Regions from separate parts of the Homo sapiens genome. Here regions 1 and 3 are each linked to region 2. Evidence: promoter capture Hi-C in 16 types of primary human blood cells and fetal thymus (Javierre and others, 2016). All regions are on one chromosome and are shown on one strand. The core of a region is centred on a gene start or on the middle of the fragment in contact, and the rest is flanking DNA. Distances in the headings are between cores, read along the strand shown.

Region 1 (4,840 bases), core at 1,683-4,182, 2.8 Mb before region 2:
TCTTCACTATATCTATTATTAATTATGTCAAAAGACTGTGATCAAGGTGTAATTTTTTTAAAAAGCAACGAAAGGCAGCTTAATACAAGCTGTGAAATCCTAATTAATCTGCTAACTTATCTAAACAAAATTTAGAATCATATTATATACATGATTTTAAACTACATTCTAACTTACATAATTTTGCTTATAAGATTATGATTTATGTTACTTTTACATTATAGCTATCACATATTCAACTACATATACCTATTTACATATGACATCTGGTAAGAAATGAAGAAATGCTCTTAAATACTTCGTAATGAATAAAAGTTACTTTCTGAGGTTTTAATACTACCTTACTACAAACAGAATCTAAACTAGACAATGAAAAACTAAGCAATTTCTTTTTTTTTTTTTTTTTGGTCACTCTTCCGGTTAAATTACTGTTTCAAAACAGAATAGGAATTTAGAATTTTATTAGTGAATCTTTTTCTTTCTCTAAGGTCTTTATAACAGATTAAGGAAAAGTACACAGATTCCTGTAAACATTTTTTTTTTTTTATTCCAGGCCTGGCAGTTTTCTAACAACTGAATTACAATTTAAATAACTTGTTACATTTTAAATAGTCCCATTTTAATGCAACTCTTAGAAAAGACCAAAAAAAAAAAAAAAAAAGTTAATCACCCTTCAACTTCTAAACCTTTAAAACTTTCCATTTCTTTAAACATTTCCTCCTTACTTTTAGGGAATCCTTCCTCCTCACAACAGCACAAAATACAGTGTCAATGAACAAATTTAAATTGTATCAAATTTTAAAATCCTGTGGGTCTTACAATACTCTATATAGAAATGGTTGTTTCCTCTCTCAACTGAAAAAATTAGAAGTATTAAATTCATGCAATATATCAATAAAGTTTGATTAAATCGCCAAGAGCCTGAACTTACTTATAATGCTAGGCATTCTCCATTACTTCCAAACAAAATCTTTCTGATAACCAATACATTAACAAAATATTTGAAGTCATCTTAGCACTTCTAATCTACACATGCTTTGAATTCATAAATTTACACGATTATCTGAAAGTCTGGTGTCACTTAAGTGGGAAAAGGGAAAGTTGAAATATTTTAAACTACACTTAGTATTCTCACAACCACAAACAAACTGAAATCAAATGTCATGTGAAACACCCCAATTTCCTTTTCTGCCTACAGCAATAGCTATGGCATTGTTCTGCTCAACCTTTTAAAAAGGTTCTTTAAGCTTCCTACTTCCTCATCTCTACTAGACATCAGCCTACTTCTGAGGGTCACTGGACCAGGCAGTTTGGGGATAAGAGTCAAGTTCATAAACGGGGCCCCCTCTTCATTCTCTTAGTACAGCATTTAACATGCATTTAGCCCTCCCTGCCTTTGCTCACGCTGCTTCCTCTGTCTGGAAAGTGTCCCCCACTCACCTTGCCAAAATCCTGGTAAAAGACCAACTCGACCCCAGGCTACTTGATTTATCCCCCCGCCCCGGCTCTCCCGTCCCCCTCAACCTTAAGCTCCAGGCAGCCCCAACCACATCTGTGTATATAGGAGACTTTCTTGCTCTGCAATGTTTCTTACAAACTTATTCCCCCCCAAAGGGAGAGATCGAGCATTTATTAAGGGAAAATATATAGTCACATAAGTGATAAAGTTGTATTCATTCCTACTCATTATTTTAAAGCTCGGATATTCTAAAACTCCTCTTTCCCCTTATTTCCAGCGAGGAGGAAGGGGGATTCAACGTCTCTATTCGTCAGATTAGGAACCTTGAGCTTTATCTCACAGTAAAAACTACATTTTTTTTTTTTTTAAATAGAGACAGGGTCTCCCTCTGTCGCCCAGGCTGGAGTGCAGGGGCGCGATCTCGGCTCACTGCAACCTCCACCTCCCAGGTTCAAGCGATTCTCCTGCCTCAGCTTCCCGAGTAGCTGGGATTACAGGCGCGCGCCACCACGCCCCGCTGATTTTTGTATTTTTAGTAGAGACGGGGTTTCACCATGTTTGCCAGGCTGGTCTCAAACTCCTGACCTCTGGTTATCCACCCGCCTCGGCCTCCCAAAGTGCTGGGAATACAGGCATGAGCCACCGCGCCCGGCCTACACTTGGTCGAAGCAACATTAACACTTAAAATACCACGGATTTTCTAATTCGTGTTAAAATACCACGGATGATTTTTAAAGCCGTGACACATTTTGTACAACTGTCAGTACAAGGGGGATCACCTCTTTGCATTTGATGAAATTAAACTAAAAAGGGGGAGAGAGCTTGCCCGAGGTCTGAAGGTTCCTCATTCCTGTTCTAAAACATAAAACCACCATCTTCAATACATATACATTTTTAATGAGAACTCTTCGTCCTCCTTTGGTTCGCTTATGACTTCCCTAATCCTAAAATCAAGTCGTTGGGAATTTCTAAGGTTCCTGCTATGACAACAGGATCGAATTACAGAGCGTGGCTTGGATTCTGCACGCAAACCCTGAAGCAGGTAACTTTTTTAAAAGCTGACAATTTTACCATATGAGATTTTAAAGACAGAACGCGCCCCAGCAAAAACTGAGCTCCCTAAACTCACTGCGGCAGGACCCCCTTCAGAAGAGCTCCTTTCCCCCGGCCCAGGCCCGCGCCCCATGAACACTCACCGGAGGCCATGGCTCCGCTCCCCGCACCTTCCCGCAGGCAGCTCCCAGCGTCCTGGCCGGAGGCGGCCGCAGTCAGTCAGTCAGGAGGCCGAGGGACCTCTGCCGGCGGGGCCCCCAGTCCCCCGACCACCCTAGAGGCCTCCTCCTTCTTCCCGCCCTCCGCTGGGTTTGCGGCTCACACCTTCCCAACCCCTGAATTCTTGCACCCCGGGTCACCCAGCGTCGCCGTCCACCGTACGGGAGCCAGGGGCAGGGGGCGGAGCGGGGAGAGCCGAGTGCTGGCCCAGCCGAGAGGCGAGCAGCCTGGCGGGAGGGGAATTTCCCGCGGCTGACGTAGGCCCGACGCAGCAACCCTCACCCGGAGGCGTGGGCGGGGCGACCTCGCGGCCGCCGCGCGCGCGACCGCCCCCAGCGCCCCGCCCCTGCCTGTCCCCGCGCACGCTCCCCGCCGGCCCCCACGCATACGCCCCCGGCGCTGCTGCGGCGGCTGGCTTGGGAGGGGGTCGAGGGAGCGGGAGCTTGGGGTGGGCTTCGGGAGCGCAGGGAACGGCGGGAGCCGGGAGGTGACGGCTAGCAGCGTGAGAAGGCCGCTGGCTCCTGAGAAATCCCCCTCCTCCAGGTTGTTCTTCCGAGTGTGGTTTAAAGTTCAGGAGCGGGCGGGAGGGTGCGGATGACGTAGAGAGGGCCGGCCGCTGGGGAGCTTTTGGGGGCGCGCGGGGCCGACTCTCCCGGCCTGGGAGGGCGACGGCCGGGGTTTTCGAGAGGTGGTTCCCCCTCTTCCCGACTTCGCACATGCAAATCTCCACCCCCGCGCCAGCGGCGGGACGTTGCGCCCTGTAGGGGGAAGTGGTGCTGCGGCGGGGGTCCTGTCTTCTTCTGTAATTCCTGTATTTGCATACGGGGACCCCCCCCCCGACTGATTTTTTTTCCTCCATCTAAATTGCGAGGGTACTGTGAACTTTACGTATTTTACCTACTGAAACCCGTTTAAACTCAAAAGGTCCGCACTTGGAGTTCGTTGTCTCATTAGGCAGTGCACTGAAGTTTAGTGGACACTATATCCTGAGATTTCACACAGATGCCAAGAAAGGCGGAAATGGAGCACACATTTAGTGCATTAAAGGACCTAGGATAACTTCGTTTCCTTCATTTGAATAGTACCTGCTATGCATCAGATAATGTCCATACTTAATCTATGACGTATTTATTATTCCTAACTTTATAGATGAAGTATTCGGGGTTCAGAGAAGTTACTTCAACATACAGTACTTCAGAATGCTGATAAAAGGCACAGTTTAAAGCCAGGGTTGTCTGACTCCAAAGCTCCATGCCCTTGCCCCTGTCCCTTACTAGTTAAAATTAGTACGGAGAGGTAATGGGGAATATCAGCCTGCCATACAAGTGCCCAAAACTGGGGGACCCATATGGGCAAATAATTTAAAATATCCTGCCAACCCCAAACTGTTCTTTCCACGAAATGCGCAATGTACAACAAAAGAATGAAACAGTTTTATTATTGGATATGTACTAAAACGTACCATGATGCACATCACAGGCAATCCACTGAAGAGAGTGCAAAGACCAAAAAAAAGGAAATCTCACCTTTTCATATGGTCAGGCACGTACAATCCATTACATACCTATTAATTGTCTTTATCCAAAGGAAAATAATGGGAAGTTATCTTGGAACCAAGAGCCAAGGCTTAAACCCTCCTAGAGACAGAAACATGGAGCACCATCCTTGATGTTCACATTTCCAAGAGATGGCTCCGAGGCCCGCAAGAAAGACCTTCTGAGGACGCAAAACTAGCAAGAGGCTTATTTAGCTTTTTAAAATATGTACATACATTTCAAAGAGACGGAAAACATTTTCAGTTCTCTGAAGGAATTTCAAAATGAAAAGTGACTGGGGGAGAGGAAAGTTCTGAGGAGGTGACATTTGAGCTGAGTCCTCAGTTTAAGAAAGAGCCGGCCAGGCGCAGTGGCTCATGCCTGTAATCCCAGCACTTTGGGAGGCTGAGGCAAGTGGATCACGAGGTTGGGAGTTCAAGACCAGTCTGGCCAAGATGGTGAAACCCCGTCTCTACTAAAAATACAAAAATTAGCCAGGCGTGGTGGCGGGCGCCTGTAACCCCAGCTACTCAGGAGGCTGAGGTAGAGAATTGCTTGAACCTGGGAGGCGGAG
Region 2 (4,899 bases), core at 1-2,500:
ATTTTGGAACTAGTGAAAGAACATCTTCTGAATGAACATGATGAGAAACAAGAAAGAAAAGAGAATCTAGACATGAAAGCAGTGAAGTGTGAGTCATCAGAAAAAAAATATGGGGAAAACTAGGTTTTCAAACAAAGCTATTTTGATAGATCTTACAGGCTATGAATGATTCACCACAAATACACGCACACAAAAGGACTTTCTTGGCTGTATGCCAACTTGTAGGTATGGCATGCGTTCTGCTTTTCAAAGAACTGGGTGCTATAAAATGCTTACACTGGTTAAAAAGAAAAAGAAAAACCCAACCATTTAGTAAGCATACTTTACAAGGCCAAGATCATTTCAAATCAATTAAAATGTTAAAGATGATGCATAGACAAAACATTCAGAAAAAGCCAATTTTTGTTATTTAAAGTGAGATAAGGAGATCATATCAGTGAACGTGTTTTGCCTGCCAAAGAAGAGCTAGTATTTTTGTTCTGTAAAAATCAGGAGGCCATTTGCACTCATAAACTTACAATCTCTAAACAGCTAAGCAGTTCCTGACATAGAAATTTTGAAATTAATAATTTTGAAAATAATAGAATTCAGGTAAATGGAATTCCAAGCCCATTAGATAAACAATCAGACCAAGTATCTATGTCCTCTGCATTCTTTACATATAAGATCATTACAAAGTATAAACTTAATCATCCAAATGACATAATTCTTCATTGTCTATATAAATGAAGAATTAGAATATTAAAAATAATTTAAAATGTCATATCAATATGTCATGTAAACCAAAAAGTATCTGAGATAAGTCTCAATCAATTTAGAAGTTTCTTTTGCCAAGGTTAAGGACATGCCCGGGATACAGCCTCAGGAGGTCCTGAGAACATGTGCCCAGGATGGTTGGGCTACAGTTTGGTTTCGTATGTTTTAGGGAGACAGAAGACGTCAATCGATACTTGTAAAATGTACATTGGTTCAGTCTGGAAAGGCCCGACAGCTTGAAAGGGGGGTAGGAGGGGGGAGTTCCAGGTCATAGGTGGATTCAAAGATTTTCTGAGTTTATCTAAAGACCTGGAATCAGCAGAAAGGAATATCTGGGTTAAGATAAGGGGTTGTGGAGACCAAGGGTATTAGTTTACTGATGGAGCCTCCAGGTAGCAGGCTTCAGAGAGAATAGACTTTAAATGTTTCTTATCAGACTTAAAAAGATGCCAGATTCTTAGTTAATTCTCTTCTGGATCAGGAAAAAGACTTGGAAAGGGAAGGGGATTCTCTACAGAATGTAGATTTTTTCCACAAGAGAATGTTTGCAGGGCCATTTCAAAACATGTCAAAGAAATATATTTGGGGATAAACTGCTTCATTTTTTTTCAGGGCCTGGTATCTGTCATGTTGGTATCTTATTGCTACAAAAAGTCTGTCTCGTCAGTCCAAAGGTCTGTGCTTTAATATTAATGCTGGTCAGTTGTGTGGGAATTTCAAAGGGCAGAGGGTATGCATACCCAACCACCCATTTCCATCATGGCCTGAACTGGTGTTTCCAGTTAACTTTGGAATGTCCTTGGCTGAAAAGAGGGGTCCATTCAGTTAGTTCGGGGGCTTAGAATTTTATTTTTCATTTATAGTCAAAAGGCTCAATAAAAAATTTTTAAGCATATTAATTTGTAGAACCCTGCTGCCAAACAAAATGTAAATGTAAATATGTATCAGATTATCTCTCAAACAATTGAATGTAGTAAACCAAATATTGACTAGCCAAAAGTGGTATGATTCTTACCCTGTCCATTCCCCAAATACGAGCACCATAAAAGGTTAACTATAAGACTATATTTACACTCTACATCCTTTTTCCCCCCCAGTTAACATCCCTGCAGTAACCAAAAACATGAGCTGGATAAGGAGGAGAAGAGGAGCTGGCCGAATGATTTTTAAGCAGAAGCTGAATGTTCAATAAGAATAGAGTTGACACCTTCAGAGGAGAAGTAAGAAATAGTTTTCCTGTGTGTCATGTAAGTCATGTTTTTAGGCTTACCTTTCATGCAATTGCAACAACATCCTCTAAGGGTCTTGAACGAACCTTCTATTCCCCAAATATTCCTGACCATTCCCAATGACTATCTCAGATGTGCTCCATCACTTTGTCTCTCCTACTGTGAACCTTTTGGTTGGTATCTACTGTTGACACATAGCTTACCTAATGAACTAGGTGGAAGTATCTGGCTAATGTTGCTAGCTGCCTTCTTCCACACAGCTCTATCTCTGACATTCTGTAGCTTGCAAGGCATCAAAATGGACCTGGATTTTCTGCAGCCCTTAAGACACTTAAACCAAGTTGTGGTCCACACAGAAGCAAAGGCTTCTCTTGTCGCTTTGGGTCACAATTTCTCTTACTGCTTTACTACTTCCACTACAGGGGCTAACAAATGTTTTAATGTAAACAGTGTATTTAGGTTTTCCTCTAAGTCTCACTGCCAATTTCAGGACCTAAGCATGCAGTTGGGAGCTAGTGGACACGACAAGTGAAAGATATTATGTTATATTCAGATTTATTTTTCTTTAGATATCATAAAAGTAATTGGACAAACCTAGTCTTCCTGACTTCCCCTTCTGTTACCTGTTATATTGAGTTATCTCACTGAAGACTCCTTGTTATTTCAGGCAAATACACTCAGATGTCTGTGGATCTAGAAATGAGTGAAAAATATAGATTCCAGCTGAGAGATACACAATTATCAAATTCCTTAAGATATACCAATATTTAAATCTATTTATTATAAAATACATGCTTATCTGGGGAACATAGCGAGACCCTGTCTCTACCAAAAATTATTAATAAAAAGTAAAAAAAATTAGCCAGGTGTGGTAGTGTGTGCCTGTATTCCCAGCTACTCAGAAGGCTGAGGTGGGAGGATTGGGAGCCTGGGAGATTGAGGCTGCAGTGAGCTATGATCACAACACTACTCCAGCCTGGGCAACAGAGTGAGACTCTGTCTCAAAAATAAAAATAAAAATAAAAATAAAAAATAAATAAAAATAAAATACATGCTTATAGTAAATATTTAAGAAAATATCAAGAAGTAATTATAGAGGGGGAATTGCCCATAAAAAATTTTTAAAAATACTCTCTGTTAACATTTTAGTGCATTTCCTTTTAGTGTTTTATTTTTTATCCCGTAAAAGGTTTTAGGTTATATGCTTTCCACAGTTATACTCAAATTGTGTGTATATAATATTTTTATTCTGCTTTTTTCAATTAACAGTATAACAAACACATTTTCCCCCTCTCCAGTCATCAGTCATGATCCCCCATCCTTAAACAATTAGTCACTAAATCCTGAGTCTTTAATATGCTTATTGGGGTAATGAGTTGGGGAAAGACAAGGAGTGATCTCAGGAAGCCAGGAAATTCATATTGAAATAAAAAGAAATGCTAGGGAGAAAAATAATTAAGAAGGCTAGAGGAGAAACAGAAAAGACAAGAATTCAATCCTATTGGATGTAGGAGAAATTTTTAGGGAATAAGGAGAGAGGAATATGAAAGTTTTTTGTGGAGAACAGCTGCTCTGAGATAACTGAGACTGAAAGAGAAAGAAAAAGAGCATTTTTAAGAGTTGAATGTACTTCCCCTTTTGGCAATGTTGTGAGGAAGTGCAATTAGGATGCACATTGCTTTCGGTTATCTTTGGCTGCAGGAGAGTTGTTTCTTGGAATATGATCCTATGTGAGGATCTTTTCAAAATGAGGGTATAAACTGGCCAGGATGATGTAGGTTGTATAATAGCTTTTAAAATTGTTTTATTTTTACGTAAATCAGATAATACCTTACTTGCTGTTTCACATCTTGATTTTTATCAACTAATAGTATTGTGGCTTCCCCAACCTGCATCAATATATAAATATTTTATCATATTCCAGTTGTACATGTCTTCTAATATTCCATAGTGTAGATGTATCATCATTTAATCGTTTTTATTTAGATGGATATTTAGGGTTTTTTTGTTTTATTCCAAATTATCATGAAAGCAGAATGTTGATCAGTCTTATTTCATCAGCACCTGTAGTAGTGGCTGAGGTTGTGTGGTTGAGGCTTGCATATTAAATTGACAAAAGACAGATTAACAGGAAAAAAGGTGTATGTATCTTTATTGATGCTAAATTTTTTTATGTGCATAGGGTCTCACAGAAAGAAAGTGAAAACTCAAAGAAGTTAGACTTGTAGGCATATATACCATTTTAACAAAGTGTGATATATTATGGAGAAGTGACTAGACAAAAGAAATGAGGGCTCCTAGGGGCAGTAAACTATGGAACAGAGACTGGTAAATCTGGGGTAGATAAGGCTTGTTTAGTAAGTTTTGTTAGGCAGATAAGAATAATTATCCTACACTCGGGACTGGAGAGAAAAACACCTTTACAAATGAAAATCTGTGTTGCCTTTACAAAGGAAAATTTATACACCACTGTAAGGCAGAAAGGAGGAGGCCGGAAAGTTCTTCCTGTGTGTGCTCATGTTAGTCCATTTTCACACTGCTATTAAGGAATATCTGAGACTGGGTAGTTTATAAAGGAAAGATTTAATTGACTTACAGTTTAGCATGGCTGGGGAGGCCTCAAGAAACTTCAAGTACCTTTTTCACAAGGCAGCAGAAAAGAGAGCAGGGGAAACCTCCAATTATAAAACCATTAGATCTTGTGAGAACTCACTCACTATCACAAGAACAGCATGGGGGAAAACACCCCCATGATCCAATCACCTCCCACCAGGCCTCTCCCTCAACACCTGAGGATTACAATTCGAGATGAGATTTGGGTGGGGACACAGAGCCAAACCATATCAATGTTGCTCCTCAATTGCTTTCAGCTCCAAATCATCCTTATATCAAAGTGGCATATTTTGGGGTGTCA
Region 3 (4,568 bases), core at 244-2,743, 2.7 Mb before region 2:
TACAAGCGTACAAAGAGACACCTAAAAGAACGTTCACTGTCACATTGTAACATTAAAAACTTAGAAATAAAATAGTCACTAACAGGAAAAGAATTAAATTAGGGTGTTTTCCTACAATAGAATACAATACAATAATTAATATTAATTAATTACAACTAAAATACTAACATGAACAAAGCTCAGAGATACTATGTTGTGCTAAAGAAGTTACAGAATTCCAAGTGTGATACGAGTTATATAAAGTTTAAAAACAACTAGAACTATGCCAGTTATTATGAACACATGTGTATGTAGTAATAGCATTAAAAAACATGCAGCTCCCATGATTCGAGGGCGGAAAAAAAAGAAGTAAAATAAAAAACAGGCAGCAACGATAAACATCAAATTCAAGACTGTGGAGACATCTGGAGCAAGAGATGATTGGGACCAGAGAAGGAGGTAGGAGAGTCCTTCAGATGTATCTGGAATGCTTGATTTCTTTTTAAAATAAATACACAGATACGTATATACACACCGTGTGTGTGCGTGTGTGCATGTACGTGTATGTGTGTACAGTTACGTTTTGGGAGAAATGGGTGGTGGCTCCACAAATGATGCTTATGTTATTCTCTACATTTTTCTGCATGTTTAAATTATTTCCTAATAGACCAAAATGGAAGAAGCTACAACAAAATCTTGCCAAGTACGGGAACTGTTTCTGACTTATCAAAGTGTGAACAAGAGGTACAGACCGGTAGATGTTGTGGGTAGGTGGGGAAGCAGGGGGTGAGGGAGAGGGTGGGGACGGCGGTGAAAAGACTGTAGCCTCATATGAAAGAGAAACCCTTGGGCTGCGATAGGTCTTTCACTCCTGAAGACCTGGAGACAGCCGGTCGGGAAGGGAGGAGGGGGAGGCAGGGGGATGGTATTTGCGCCAATGCAGACAGGAGCAGACGGGCTCAGACAGTGCTGGGGGCAGGCGAGTGACCGACAATTTCTCCCTACGGACACAGGCACCTCTTTCCCTCCTCATCCTTTTCTGAGGGCGTCCTCGGAGGCGGGACAGCTGGGGACTCCCGGAGTCCCCGAGTCCGTGCAGGGGTGGCCAGGTGAGCCGCCGGGTTTAGGGGAGGTGCCCTTGCGGACCGGCCGGGAGCCGGGAAGGAGACCATCCCGGCGAGCTGCGTGCAGGGCGCAAGGGACAGGGAACGGAAACAAGGACACAGTCGGACCACCTCAGCTCACCCCTACCCGCCTCACCCCAACCGCCGCCCCCCACCACTTACGCAGACATCTCTTTCATCGCTTCCTGCGTCTCCCTCTCCAGCGAGTGTTTATCGCTCTGGAGTCCTGTTCTTGCTGTTCCCTTCTCCCCCTGTTCACTTTCCTCCGGTCGCTAGTAGCTCGCTTGCTCGCTCACTTTCCCACTTACTATGGCTGAGGCATCCAACCGAGTAGTGAAAACACCACAAAACCGGCTCTATTTATGACAATACAGCGCGGCCGACGCCAATATGGCGCCGCTTCCCAGCCTGCCTCTCGCAGGTCTCAGCCCCGCCCCTGGAGGTCTGGACCACCCTCAGCCACGCCCCCTCTGCCTTTAGGTCCCGGGAGGCTCCGGGGCCCCGCCCACAAGCTCAGGGCTCTCAGTATACCGTTGGTTCGAAGGAGTATTTATTTGGTACTCTCCTTTGTCCGCGGTACTGTCAATGCCGGTAGACCGCTTGGAAGGAAATTTGGAGATATGTTTTCCTTGCCTCTCGAATGGCAGCATATATCATACATTTTTTAAAAAGGTCACACCCTTGCCTAGCAAAAACTATTTCAACGCCTCCGTTATCCTACATCTTTGATTTAATTATAGTTATACATAATTAACTCACCAGTTGAGATTTTGTCTCGAAAGGGTCACACCCAGGAACATACGACTTTCACACAAGTATCCCAGGGAAAAACAAGCTTGTAAATTGGAGGCTTAACTGTTCACTTCACCCCTAAGTACCACCTTTGATTAGTGACATTCTGGCATTTAGCTGACAGAGGTTGAAAATAGTAGCTAGCAGTTTGCAATAGGATAAATCCCAGGCTGAAACAAAAATCTTACACTTTTAAATAGTGGAAATCATGTTCGATGTGAGTGTGGGGATGAAAATGAGAAAATAATAACCAATTTTAAAATGCTGAAAGGTAGAAGTAATTTCAAGCACTAAATCATTACAAAGAAAAGGAAGTCAAGAACTGCTTGCTCTTGAACATAACTCAGAGTCACAGTAAATAGAGGAGATTACTTGCTGATTAATTCATTAAAAAATATTTATTGAGGCAAGATACAGTGGCTCACACCTGTAATCCCAGCACTTTGGGAGGCCAAGGTGGGAGAATTGCTTGAGGCCAGGAGTTCGAGAACAGCCTGGGCAACATAGTGAGACCCTGTCACTACAAAAAGTTTTAAAAAAATTAGCTGGGCATGGTGGCCCATGCCTGTAGTCCCAGCTACTCAGGAGGCTGGGGTGGGAGGATCTCTTTGAGTCCAGGACGTGGAGGCTGCAGGAAACCAGGATGGCACCACTGCATTCCAGCCAGAGTGATAGAAGGAGACCCTGTCTCAAAAAAATAAATAAATAAATAAATAAATAAAAACTACAAAACATATTTTTGAAAACCTGAGCAAGGTGCAGTGGCTCTTGCCTGCAATCCCAGTGCTTTGTGACGCCAAGGCTGGTGGATCACTTGAGGCCATGAGTTCTATTAAGACCAGCCTGGCCAACATGGCAAAAACCCATCTCTACTTAAAAGCAACAACAAAAACCTGACGTGGCCTGGTGTGGTGGATCACACCTGTAATCCTAACATTTTGGGAGGCTGAGGCGGGTGGATCACTTGAGGTCAGGAGTTCGAGACCAGCCTGGCCAACATGGTGAAACCCCATCTCTACTAAAAATAGAAAAACTAGCTGGGTGCGTGGTGCGCCTGTGATCCCGGCTACTCAGCAGGGTGAGGCAGGAGAATTGCGTGAACCCGAGAGGCAGAGGTTTTTTTGAGATGGAGTCTCGCTCTGTTGCCCAGGCTGGGGTGCAGTGGCGTGATCTCTGCTCAGCCTCCTGAGTAGGTGGGATTACAGGCATGCACCACCACGTCCAGCTATATTTTTGTATTTTTAGTACAGACGGGGTTTCACCATGTGGGCCAGCTAGTCTCAAACTCCTGACATCAGGTAATCCGCCCACCTCGGCTTCCCAAAGTGCTAGGATTACAGATGTGAGCCACCACACCCAGCCAAGCAGTGTTTTATTATTTATTTATTTATTTATTTTTGAGATGGAGTCTTGCTCTGTCACCTAGGCTGCAGCACAGTGGCATGATCTTGGCTCACTGCATCCTCTGCCTCCTGGGTTCAAATGATTCTCCTGTCTCAGCCTCCCGAGTAGCTGGGACTACAGGCGTGCGCCACCACGCCTGGCTAATTTTTTGTATTTTAGAGATGGACTTTCACCATGTTGGCCGCACATCTCAGCCTCCCAAAGTGCTGGGATTACAGGCGTGAGCCACCGCTTCCAGCCTAATTTTTGTATTTTTAGTACAGACAGGGTTTCACCATATTGGTCAGGCTAGTCTTGAACTCCTGACCTCGTGATCCGCCAGCCTCAGCCTCCCAAAGTGCTGGGATTACAGGCGTGAGCCACCATGCCCGGCCACGGTGTTTTAATCAATTGCTTTTCTTCCCATTTTCCTGTCTTTGTTAATCTACCTGGGATTTAATGACAGTCCCTAACCCCCATCTCAATAAGGATACTGTATTTTTCCCAACCCCAATTTCAATAAGGACATTTTTCTTATTTGCAGTGTATATTGTAACTGTATTTGTTAAGTTAAAAATTTTCAAATGACAAAACTAACCCATGCGCATAAAAAAAAAGAGCGGACGTCTGTCCCTCCTTTCCATCTCTTGCCCAGGCTGGAGTGCAGTGATGTGATCTCAGCTCACTGCAACCTCCACCTTCCGGTTTCGAGTGATTCCCCTGCCTCAGCCTCCTGAGTAGCTGGGTTTACAGGTGCCCGCCACTATGCCCAGCTAATTTTTGTATTTTTAGTAGAGACAGCATTTTGCCATGTTGGCCAGGCTGGTCTTGAACTCCTGACCTCAGGTGATCCGCCTGCCTCGGCCTCCCAAAGTGCTGAGATTACAGGCGTGAGCCACCGTGCCCGGCCTGTATTTTATTTTTGAGACAGACTCTCCCTCTGTTGCCCAAGCTGGAGTGCAGTGCTGTGATCTTGGCTCACTGCAATGTCCATCTCCTGGGTTGAAGCCATTCTCCTGCCTCAGCCTCCCCAGTGGCTGGGATTACAGGTGCGCGCTACCATACCTGGCTAATTTTTGTATTTTTAGTAGAGATGGAGTTTCACCATGTTAGCTAGGTTGGTCTCAAACTCCTTTCCTCAAGTGATGTATCCGCCTAGGCCTCTTAAAGTGCTGGGATTACAGGCGCGAGCTACCTCGCCCCGCTGACATGTATATTGTAAAATAAAATTTATATACTTGAAATTGTCCTCTTAGAAGTTTATACCAGTATATGCTCCAATATGTATGT

Evidence for each region. Contacts are between HindIII fragments. The CHiCAGO score rates a contact against its expected background, and 5 or more counts as called.
Region 1: a contact is called between the fragment with the promoter of REL here and a fragment that was not itself captured in region 2, in 1 of 17 cell types (neutrophils). The highest score is 5.5, in neutrophils.
Region 3: a contact is called between the fragment with the promoter of PAPOLG here and a fragment that was not itself captured in region 2, in 1 of 17 cell types (total CD4 T cells). The highest score is 5.3, in total CD4 T cells.

Annotation. Positions count from the first base shown.
Region 1 is chr2:60,879,666-60,884,505 of GRCh38, reverse strand. It overlaps REL (REL proto-oncogene, NF-kB subunit), which reads right to left and starts at 2,932. Exons shown (of 10, transcript NM_001291746.2): 1 at 2,656-2,932. The coding sequence starts at 2,665. REL-DT (REL divergent transcript) reads left to right here and starts at 3,192. Exons shown (of 3, transcript NR_033980.1): 1 at 3,192-3,274. RefSeq lists an enhancer at 2,520-3,189 and a silencer at 2,798-3,337. The HindIII fragment of the contact is 7,860 bases long and covers 1,250-4,840 here.
Region 2 is chr2:58,038,023-58,042,921 of GRCh38, reverse strand. It overlaps LOC107984043 (formin-2-like), which reads left to right. Exons shown (of 3, transcript NR_171623.1): 2 at 1,369-1,430; 3 at 1,854-2,846. It also overlaps a transcript of VRK2 not described here. Among named protein-coding and RNA genes, the nearest start is that of VRK2, 6.3 kb to the left of the region's middle. RefSeq lists an enhancer at 3,690-3,739. The HindIII fragment of the contact is 8,313 bases long and covers 1-4,899 here.
Region 3 is chr2:60,753,193-60,757,760 of GRCh38, reverse strand. PAPOLG (poly(A) polymerase gamma) reads right to left here and starts at 1,493. Exons shown (of 22, transcript NM_022894.4): 1 at 1,266-1,493. The coding sequence starts at 1,282. RefSeq lists an enhancer at 1,268-1,577. The HindIII fragment of the contact is 3,911 bases long and covers 1-1,940 here.